Regions from separate parts of the Homo sapiens genome. Here region 1 is linked to region 2. Evidence: promoter capture Hi-C in 16 types of primary human blood cells and fetal thymus (Javierre and others, 2016). All regions are on one chromosome and are shown on one strand. Each heading gives the region's core, a stretch centred on a gene start or on the middle of the fragment in contact. The rest is flanking DNA. Distances are from core to core; before and after follow the strand shown.

Region 1 (5,266 bases), core at 1,223-3,722, 1.3 Mb before region 2:
TAACAAACCTGCACATTGTGCACATGTACCCCAGAACTTAAAGTATAATAAAAAAATAAATAAATAAAATACAGCAAAAATAAATAAAAAAGAATAATCAATGGATGCTAAGTCTGGGAGGGAAATTTTTATAAGATATTTTCATGGTTGTAAATGTCTTTCTGTGGATTGCTTATAACTTGCAAGGGCAAAATAATAGACTAGAGAGTTGAGAAATTGGACAACCCCTTACTAGCTTATCAGAGTTAACATCAGCAGTGAGGATAAAATGAACATTATGTACTAGTTCAGTACTATACCTAGCATTCTGACTATGGGTATCTAGCTCTAATCTGATAATGAGGAAGCATTAAACAAATCCCAAATGTGGAACATTCTGTGTTTTTTAAAGGGTCTCTGTATTATTCAAATATGTCAGTTTCATCAAACAAAATCTGAGGAATTTTTACTTAAAATATACATAATTTCAGATGGTCAAAAACTACCTGGAGCAATAGACACCTTTCGACGAAAGTATAATAGCTCTGAGGCTTGCCTTGTGTACTTGACTATCCCCTTCTTGGTTGAGCGTTAGTTCATTTATTCCTTTCTGTGTACCGGGCACTGGAGTGTATTCAGTGATTATTTTCTAAATTGAATTTCTGAATTACAATTATCACAGCAGTTATAAAATTAATTTTGGTAATTTCTTATCAAAAATTGTAATTATTAAGGAACAATTCACAAACACTTTTGCCAAACGTTAATCACTTAAGGGCTTTTTGTTTTTCTCTCTCTTACGAGGAGGGAGCATTGACCTTTTAAAATGAAGCAATATAGAGACAAAGACTATCAAATAAGTAAAAACAATCTGAGATAACTGAATTTGAAGCACAGAAGAAAAAACAGATATGAAATCATTTAAAAATAGTTTTGAAATCTTTTAAATCACTTAAATAACCATGTGTCTGATGTATGGTATACTGAAACTTAAGATAATGCTTATATGACAGATGAAGATTGCCTAAGACTGTTACTTAAACATGTAACAATAGGAGTAAAAGTTGCTTTTTGGAATCTGAGGTTGGAAAATTTCAAAGAGTTTAGAATTAACTTTCAAAAAATTTAGCTACATGGTTGGCCTGTCAAAACTTATAGTGTGACTTCAAATCTTATAGTGTGACTTCAAAATATGTCTTTGTCTTTTCAACCAAATGTATTTTGTTATGTTTTGTTATTTGTTCCTACTTTCATTGAATTTAATCAGAAAATTTAGTCTGTAAAATCTTTTGAAAACATTTTGTTAATCTTGTCTATAACATCATATGTTGTCTTTTCTGGATATTTCTTAGACATAACAACAGTGAAATTATTTTTACTATTTAAAGAATACAACATTTTCTCTTTGATTATGCAATTAAGTATTAAAGTTTATATTAGTAAATTCCTTTACTCTCTTTACTAGCTCTACCCCATATAAGAGATACTTGAAGCCTTACATTATAATTAAGTTTGCTTTGCATATTTAATACCTTTGTATTTAGATACTAGGTTTGATTTCTCCAGATATACAATTGATATTTCTGTCACCCAAATCATGCTTTTTGTTATTAAATCATGTACTTCTTTTTATTGCTTTTAATCCTAAATTCATCCTAGCTTGATACTAATACTACCTGTCCTGCTTGCTTTTCCTTGAATTTGTTGTGGATCTTTTCTCCCATTCATGTATCTCCATCCTTTTTGTTTCACTGTGGTAGGTCATTGCCAAAACTATCATGCTGAGATCCTCTGGTTTTCGGACATAGCAAATACATGATCACATATCCTCAGGGACCAGTAACTGATATACATTTATAGTGTATCAGTGTGTGGTTACGTGTTTGATGACTAGTCCTTTTGTGAAATTAGTTGGTAATGTAGCAGTGTGGCATAGTGGATGTTAGTTGTTAAAACTGAAAAGTGGTTCATTAAAGACAATTTGTTTTTTTGTGATAAAATTGTGTAATTTTTTTAGGGTTTTAGTCTGAGGATACAAGAGTCATAAAAAGCTAATAACCTTCACTCTCCCAACCTGTCCATCCAGCGTTTTCCTTGACCTTCACTCTGGACAGTTTCCCCGACGTTGCTAGCACTTAGCTCCAAGTGAACAAACTAGAGTAAACCCCAAAGCCATGTTTTTTGAGTTTTCCTGATTTGATGCTGTCTTGTTAAAACCTGGAGGTTATCTATTAAGAATGTAATTATAAAGCATAATTTGTATGTAGTCAATATAGTCATTATTTTCAAGCATCAAACTCAATCCTTCATTGGAAAAATTCCTTTACTTTCTAAGTGTGTACTTGAAAATATAGTTGGTTTTATTTAACTCAGTCTGTAGCCTCTTATTTTTAACACAAGAATTTAGTCCATTCAACATTTGTATGCTAAAGTATGTCGCTTTATTCCTTCTACTTTGTTTATTAATTTTACCTCTTTTTTGTTTGCTTGAGATGGAGTCTCACTCTGTCACCCAGGCTGGCATGCAGTGGCATGATCTTGGCTCACTGCAACCTCCGCCGCCCTGGTTCAAGTGATTCTCCTGCCTCAGTCTCCCGAGTAGCTGGGATTACAGGCGCGCACCGTCACGCCTGGCTGATTTTTGTATTTTTAGTAGAGATGGGGTTTCACCGTGTTGGCCAGGCTGGTCTTGAACTCCTGATCTTGTGTTCCCCCTGCCTCGGCCTCCTAAAGTGCTGGGATTACAGACATGAGCCACCAAGCCCGGCCTAATTTTACCTCTTTAACTTTCCTTTTTAAAAAATTGTTTCTGTGTGATAATTGGTATTAGTTGCATTTTCCTCTTTGTTAACCTGAACTGTCTATTAACTTTTCATTATATTATTGGTTACCTTTCCTTTCCTTATATTCATAATCAGATATATTTCTCTGTTATTACTTGAAAATAAAGTACCAACTCTCCCCCACCAAGATGTTCTTTTTTTTTTTTTTTTTTTTTTTTTGAGACGGAGTCTCACTCTGTTGGCCAGGCTGGAGTGCAGTGGTGTAATCTTGGCTCACTGCACCCTCTGCCTCCCAGGTTCAAGCAGTTCTCTGCCTCAGCCTCCTAAGTAGCTGAGATTACAGGCGCCCGCCACCATGCCTGGCTAATTTTTGCATTTTTAGTAGAGATGGGGTTTCACCATCTTGTTCAGGCTCGTCTTGAGCTCCTGACCTCGTGATGCACCTGCCTTGGCCTCCCAAAGTCCTGGGATTACAGGTGTGATCCACTATGCCCAGCCTCAAGATGTTCTTTTCATCCTCCCCTCATCATATAGAAATTTTAGAATAGTTTCTAATACCTTACCTTTCTTCTTACTTTAGAAGTCTTTGGCATGCTTTTATTCTCACCACCCATTCCCCCCTAGCTTTTATTGGAAAATTTTACTGGAACATTTTCCCCAACCCAATCCCTACAGGTATTACTGAAAAAACTTAGTAGTTTTTTTTTGTCGTTGTTGTTTGTTTGTTTTATGAATTTCTCTTACAGACATGAATGTCACTTTTATTTCAAGAATTTTTTTGTTTGGATCTTGTTTTGTTTGGATCTAAATTGTTTGGATCTAAATTTAAATTGGGTTCAATTTAAATTTAATGGCATTTATATACTGCAAGATTTGTCACCTACCACTTTTTCCTTTTCTTCATTTTCTCTTTCTTGTTCACATTCATTTGTTCTTTGGAGTAATTTTCTCAGATGGGAATATATAGATTTTTAATCTGAATTTTTTGCCTAACTGCTAACGTCTTCCTTTTTCCAGACAGGCAAATCATGTCTTACCTGGATATAGAATTCTTGGGGTGCAGTTCTTTTCTCCTTCTAATTGCCTTTTGGCTCCTTTACAGGTTTCTGCCAAGACCAGCTCGGTCATGGAGACCCCAACCCAGTGGCGCTAGAGAAATTAAAGACACACACAGAAATATAGAGTGTGGAGTGGGGAAATCAGGGGTCTCATAACTTTCAGAGCTGAGAGCCTCGAACAGAGATTTACCCATATATTTATTGACAGCAAGCCAGTGATGAGCATTGTTTCTATAGATTATAGATTAACTAAAAGTATTCCTTATGGGAAACAAAGGAATGGGCCAAAATAAAGGGATGGGTCTGGCTAGTTATCTGCAGCAGGAACATGTCCTTAAGGCACAGATCACTCATGATATTGTTTGTGGTTTAAGAACGCCTTTAAGTGGTTTTCCTCCCTGGGTAGGCCAGGTGTTCCTTGACCTCATTCCAGTAAACCCACAGCCTTCAGCGGGGGCATCATGGCCATCACGAACATGTCACAGTGCTGCAGACATTTTGTTTATGGCCAGTTTAGGGGCCAGTTTATGGCCAGATTTGGGTGCCTGTTCCCAACAAGTTACTTTATTCCCATTTTCCTTATTGGCTCACTGGGGCTCAAATCTGGTTTTTGGAGTGCTCTAAGTGGTGGCAGTCTACACAAGAAGGAAATATATGTGTTCTTTATCTTGGTGGATCATAACTGGAGAAATGTTCCCTACATCCTCTACTCTGTAAAGTGTTTCATCTTAGGCTTCAAATATGTTCAGCCCATAGGAAGGTCAGGCACATGACCTGGGGCCAATGTTGACCTGATCTCTAGGGTTTTTAGATTTCAGTGGCCTGTACTCTTCTCAGGATTTGCTAATTTTCCAATCTTTGTCTTTAGGGTCTTCTCAATCATTTCCCCTGCTAGGAAGCCCTCGAATTTCATACCTCACTTTACTCAGTAGACACTTGGATTCACAGGCTGATATTTTGGAGTTGGGTATGAGGAGAAGTCAGACATGTTTAGATTTATCATCTTCCTAGGATCCTTAATAGTTTATTTTTAATTTCCAAGTAGTCTTTGTCTTCTCTTTTTTGACTTTATTGTTTCTTTTCTTATTTTATAAATTATGACAAGAATGTTCTGAACAATTCCCTTCTAGGGAGGAGATGGGCAGAATAAAGATTTTCTTTATGGTCTAATGCCATATGTTCTATTTTAACTTCTATTTGTAATCATCCTTACATTTGTCAAGGCCTTTTTAACCCGTACTTTCTAAATATCTGAATCTAGAGTGAAACCCTGTCCCTAGTAAGAAGCTCAGAGTATTCAGCTACTCCTCTGTTTTTGCTGCTCTTTGTCAGTATAATCTATGATTTTAGATAAAATCATGTATATTGTGTTTTTATTTTCTTTCAAAAAGTTTTCTTGCATTTATATTTTAATTATATAATTCTATTTTTAACAATTATTTAAAT
Region 2 (5,356 bases), core at 2,597-5,096:
TCCTGACCTCAAGTGATCCGCCCACCTCCGCCTCCTGAAGTGCTGGAATTACAGGTGTGAGCCACCGTGCCAGACATATATTTTAGGACAGGGTCTCACTCTGTCACCCAGGCTGGAGTGCAGTGGCATGATCTTGACGTGATCTCGGCTCACTGCAAACTCCACCTCCCGGGTTCAAGCAATTCTCCTGCCTTAGCCTCCTGAGCAGCTGGGATTACAGGCACCCGCCACTACACCCAGCTAATTTTTGTATTTTTAGTAGGGAAGAGGTTTCACCATGTTGGCCAGGCTGGTCTCGAACTCCTGACCTCAGGTGATCCACCCACCTCGGCCTCCCAAACTGCTGGGATTACAGGCATTAGCCACCACGCCTGGCCCCAGCACATATTTTAAATATTTTTATGATTACAAACTTGTGGATGCAAAGCATGAAACCAACTGCAGCAATGTATATTCTAGATTTAAAGGCAGCAGAAAGAAAATAATAATTGAGAAATGAGTGGGGCTTAATATAAAACTTTTTCACAATAAGAACTTACAACTAGCCACTCATTTCATTGCATTATACAAAACAATAATTCATAACACAGGAAAAGAATATTAAGAACACACCTCTATAAAACTAGAAATGCAGGAAACATATAAACACTTAATTTAAGAATTGCCTGCAAGTATATCTGAGCAGCAGCCATCTCTCAGGCACCAGAGCCTGTCCAAGACCTTTGGTAAAACCATAAGCAGTGGGTACCAAGTCTCCCTCATACTTCCTTATTCCCAGACCTGCTCGGGTACTGCCATCACCCAAGGATCAAACTATTTCTACTTTCCTCACCCACCTCCCACCTATTGTCCCCCAGTTCCCCTTCACCTCCATTCAAATCTTTAGGCTCAAGGTTAAACAGGGATCAGCAAATTTTTCTGCAAAGGGCCAGAAACAAATATTTTAGGCTTTCCAGAGCCATACTTTGACAACTCCAGGTTAAGAACCAGAAGGACACCAGGTGACTCCAGCCTGCTACTTTAACTACATTATATGCTAAGTAAGATTTTGTTCACTGCTTTGGGAGCCTAATCACAATTCAAAGATAGTTTTCATAGGGAAATAAAACAGGAGTTTCAAACAGATTATCTTTAGATACAGTATGGTTGGATCTTACAAGGAAACAGGTTCTTCAATATAAATATTTTCCCGAGTGCATTAAAGAATATTTTCTGAATTGTAGGCAATTTTTAAAAACCATATCAGGTTTTAAATAAAAAGTAAAACAGAAGAAATAGTTTTTAACTGCTTAAACTTTCTTTCCAAAAGATCTGAGGAGCCAAAAAATCAGTGTTTATATAAAAGGAAGTGAAGGAGATCACTATAATACTTCCTTTGTTCTAAAACTTTCCTACACAAGGGAAGAAATATGACTTCAAAAATATACAGCAATAACCTTTAATCAGTAGAAGAGAAGGCACTTCCCATCTTCTAGATAAAGGGTGAACAAACTATATATGTCGCCAGTTTACATGAGGCCTGTGAACTCACGATTGTTTTACATTTTTAAATGGTTGATAAAAAATGTAATAACATCTTGTGATATGTGAAAATTGCAGGAAATTCAAATTCTAGTGTCCATGAATAGTTTTATTAGAACATAGCCATGCTCATTTGTTTCTAAATTATCCAGGCTACTTTTTTTTCCCTACAACAGCAGATCTGAGTAGTTATGACAAGAGACTATCCAGCCCTTCACAGGAAAAGTTTGCCATCTCATGTCCTAGATTATCAACACTTTCATAAATAAGAGAAGTTAGGGCTGATAAACTAAAAAGTACTTTATTTTAGCTACTGTACAGGTTCCTGATTCCAAAAACAACAAAGTGAATATTTAAACACTAAACCAAATATTGATAGCCTACAAACATATTCTGACTTATAATATTGTCATTAACTTGAAAAAATACCTTTTTGCATAGTGAGTATATGGGAATATATATTATATTCTTGAAAATAACTACTGATCTAAGTGGAAGGGTAATCAAATAAGTTTAGGTATGTGCAAAACAGATTGGGCTTTGACATGGAATACCAGTTTTTAAACGTATTTCAACTTTTAAATACTAAATGTTTTTAAGTACGATTTTCTCTGGCAGTTTAACATCAGACCAAACTATTTCTTGTTCACTCCATTCACAAATTCTCCAGTATAAAACTTCAGTTATTAGCAATTTCAATTATTTCAGGGTAACAGCAAAAGTCCATATGTAATCACTTCAAATTGGGCAAATAATTCAAATCACACCCAATGCCAGTAACTATAAAGCTAGCCCACAACTCAACTGGCAGCCACATCTTAACCCTGCATTGTTCCCTGCTTCTCACGAAATTCTATTAGCTCCCATATAGTGTTTGTGTGGAAATGTCCCCCAAAAGAAACTTACAGTTTAAAATGTTTTTTTTCGGTTATGTTTTACTATAGTTTATGGGGACATTATTTGTAATACTTAAGAACTTAGAAATTCTGTAAGTCCCAGATAAATCCTTTGTGGATATTCGGAAACTATGGAAACTGTAGTTTTGTTAGGATTACAATCAAGGCTCAACAAATATGTATTGGCAATAAGCCTAAACCTTTACATTGTTGCAGCTATTTCAAGTAATGATTTGACTTCTGTAATTTATAAGTTTTCGTTCGGATCAATTTTGCTATCCCCATTCCATTTTAGTTATCAAAACAATTCTATTTCTTTTTCTTTTATTTCCTGTGTTGCTACAAAAAAAGGCTTTTAAGATTGGACTTATTTGAAATGAAACAGAAAGAAGACATAAGAGAAGCATATGCAACTAAAGACAATGCCCCTGGGCAGGGCCTGATGAGAAACATGGACCCCGCAACAGGGAAAATAACTTGAAACCCACGCAAGAAGATATTCCTTATGTATTCGTTCAATATTTATTCAAGGGTGAAGCCAAGTGCTCTATGGAGGAAGGGTGGAGCAAGAATCCGGGTGTTGCCCAACTTCTCCTGGTTAATGCACCACAGTCAAAGAATCCACCTCTGGTCCCAACTTACACACACTGCTCAGCAAAAAGTGGTGCGGAGTCAATTAGACTCGCCCTCCTTAAATGTCAATTAGTCAACAAATACGCCTTCACCCGAATGTGCCATCCCTCAGGAGGAGGGAGGTGGATCTCAGCTTCCACCCCAAATAGCAGCATACAGCATTCTCTATAATTACACACAGCATACAGGTGGGAACTGTTAACGACTGTTATCTTCCTTTCGTTACGATTTCAGTGCTGTTTTGACGCCCCAGTGATGTCTTTAGTGGTTGTTGCATGGCCCAGCCGCCGCATGGGATCTGCGCCCGGAGCCTGCCTTTAAGCCTCTGAGCATCCACAGGGTAGGAGGCGCAGAGGAGACCGGAGCCGCGGGGCCAGGGTGAAGAACTGTCCTGCCTCGCTGGGTAATGCGGTCCAGCCCCGGACCCACGCCCTGGCCTCTCTCCGGGTCCGCCGCAGCCCCGGCCTGTCAGAATTCGGTTCCCACCCACTCCCAGCTAGTGGAGGTCAGTGCGGTCTCTGACTCCGACCTGCCCAGCGCGGAGTCAGCCGCGGAGACTGCAGCCGCAGCGGAAGGCAGGCTGCCCTGACTGCCGGGAGCGGCTCCACGCAAACTCCTGACGCCTCAGCCAGGCCCCAGAGGCACTGGGCAACCAGGGTGCTCCGCTGCCCGACAGGGGCTGACCAGCGCAGATGCTCGCCCGCCGCCGCCCCCCGCGGACTCCCCACTCCCAGCAGACCCAGTTCTCACCTCTCGGGGCAGCCATGGTTCCCCGACAGCCCCCCGCGGAACTGACGCCCGCCCCCTCCGCGCCCCCGCGCAGGACACCGGGGACCGCCCCTTGTGGTCATAGAGACGAAGCCGCTCGGCCTAGAGCGCCTCGCCGGCCTCCCGGTCGGCCACGCACTAAAACTGGGCTCAGGAATCCAAGCTACACCCCAAAATGGGGAGAACGCGGATCGAAGGGAGGCCTTCCCGGCCGCGTCCTAGGTGACAGGTGTGTGAAATTCGGTTGGGGAGGTAGTTCTGTAAACTGCGTCTCCCCGCCAGCTAAGGAAGTTGAGTGAAGGGAGCGTTGCCGTCTGGGAATCGTAGTCCTCACAAAGGCGTGAGTAGGCGGCAAATAAGGATTTGGGTTTAGCCTTGGGGATTCACTCCTGTCAAAGCTGTTAGAGAAGCTCCCAGAACTCGTAAAGTAACAGAAACTACTTGCGGCAACATTTGTAACTTCCACCTGGCTCATTATCTTCCACTGTTACCTTGTGTTCTAGATAAGTTATAATTTATTCTACATATCGTTCAGAAGTCTTGTGCCTGTTCCATATCGTCAGCAGTCATCGGTTGTATTTACCCAGCCAGGCATTCTAACTAATGATCTTCGCACAACAAAACGGCCTTTAAAAAATCAGATGTATCGGCCGGGCGTGGTGGCTCACGCCTGTAATCCCAGCACTTTGGGAAGTCGAGGCAGATGGATCACCTAAGGTCAGGAGTTCGAGACCAGCCTGGCCAATATGGCGAAACCCCGTCTTTACTAAAAATACAAAAAATTAGCCGGGCGTGGTGGCGCGCACCGGTAATCCCAGCTACTCAGGAGGCCGAAGCGGGAGAATCACTTGAACCCGGGAGATTGCAGTGAGCCGAGATTGCGCCCCTGCACTCCAGCCTGGGCGACACAGCGAGACTTCGTCTCAAAAAACAAAAAAAATTAGATATATCAACAGGCATTTTAACCACTATAATCTCCACTTTCACTAGGGGATGTTAATTAGCTATCATAATTGATATTAGAAATAATTCATTGGTGAAATAAATGATGTTCAAGATATGTGGATTGGTTTAAAATAATATGAAAATACCTCAGCACTTACAGGAATAGGGATGCAAGATTCTGAGCTGCCCAGCAGCCCACACCTTCTGCAGCATGTTCTTTCCCCAAAATTGTCCTTTTAGAGGGTTGGTTGTATACCATTGTCTTGTTAAATATACATATAGATATATCTGGTCTGTTAACATTGTTGGAACATTTTGCATGCCTTATTAGCATCATATTAATATTGGGAGGGGCTCCCAGGAGACCAGAGTTGACTTTGTAGAGGCAGACATTTGATTAATCTCATTTTGCAATAGTGTTGGACTTTTCCTCTACCTGGTAGTAAGTGTGCTCACTGGTGCTAATCTTCCCTTATTGTAATTGATACAGTTTCCACTAGTAGAATTATTCAGTTCTCTACTGTGTATGTACTTATGCATACATTTAAACAATATTCATATATGTACGTGAAATTAATTTTAAAAATTAAAAA

Evidence for each region. The method cuts DNA at HindIII sites, captures the fragments that hold promoters and counts their contacts. A CHiCAGO score of 5 or more calls a contact.
Region 1: a contact is called between a fragment that was not itself captured here and the fragment with the promoter of SLC35A1 in region 2, in 1 of 17 cell types (naive CD8 T cells). The highest score is 5.3, in naive CD8 T cells.

Annotation. Positions count from the first base shown.
Region 1 is chr6:88,753,675-88,758,940 of GRCh38, reverse strand. The region is part of intron 13 of RNGTT (RNA guanylyltransferase and 5'-phosphatase); the gene reads left to right. Among named protein-coding and RNA genes, the nearest start is that of RNGTT, 210 kb to the left of the region's middle. The HindIII fragment of the contact is 6,935 bases long and covers 1-5,266 here.
Region 2 is chr6:87,471,464-87,476,819 of GRCh38, reverse strand. SLC35A1 (solute carrier family 35 member A1) reads right to left here and starts at 3,846. Exons shown (of 8, transcript NM_006416.5): 1 at 3,801-3,846. The coding sequence starts at 3,816. LOC124901357 (a long non-coding RNA gene) reads left to right here and starts at 3,875. Exons shown (of 2, transcript XR_007059668.1): 1 at 3,875-4,047; 2 at 4,322-5,356. RefSeq lists enhancers at 2,978-3,077, 3,128-3,297, 3,293-4,199 and a silencer at 3,748-3,887. The HindIII fragment of the contact is 12,962 bases long and covers 1-5,356 here.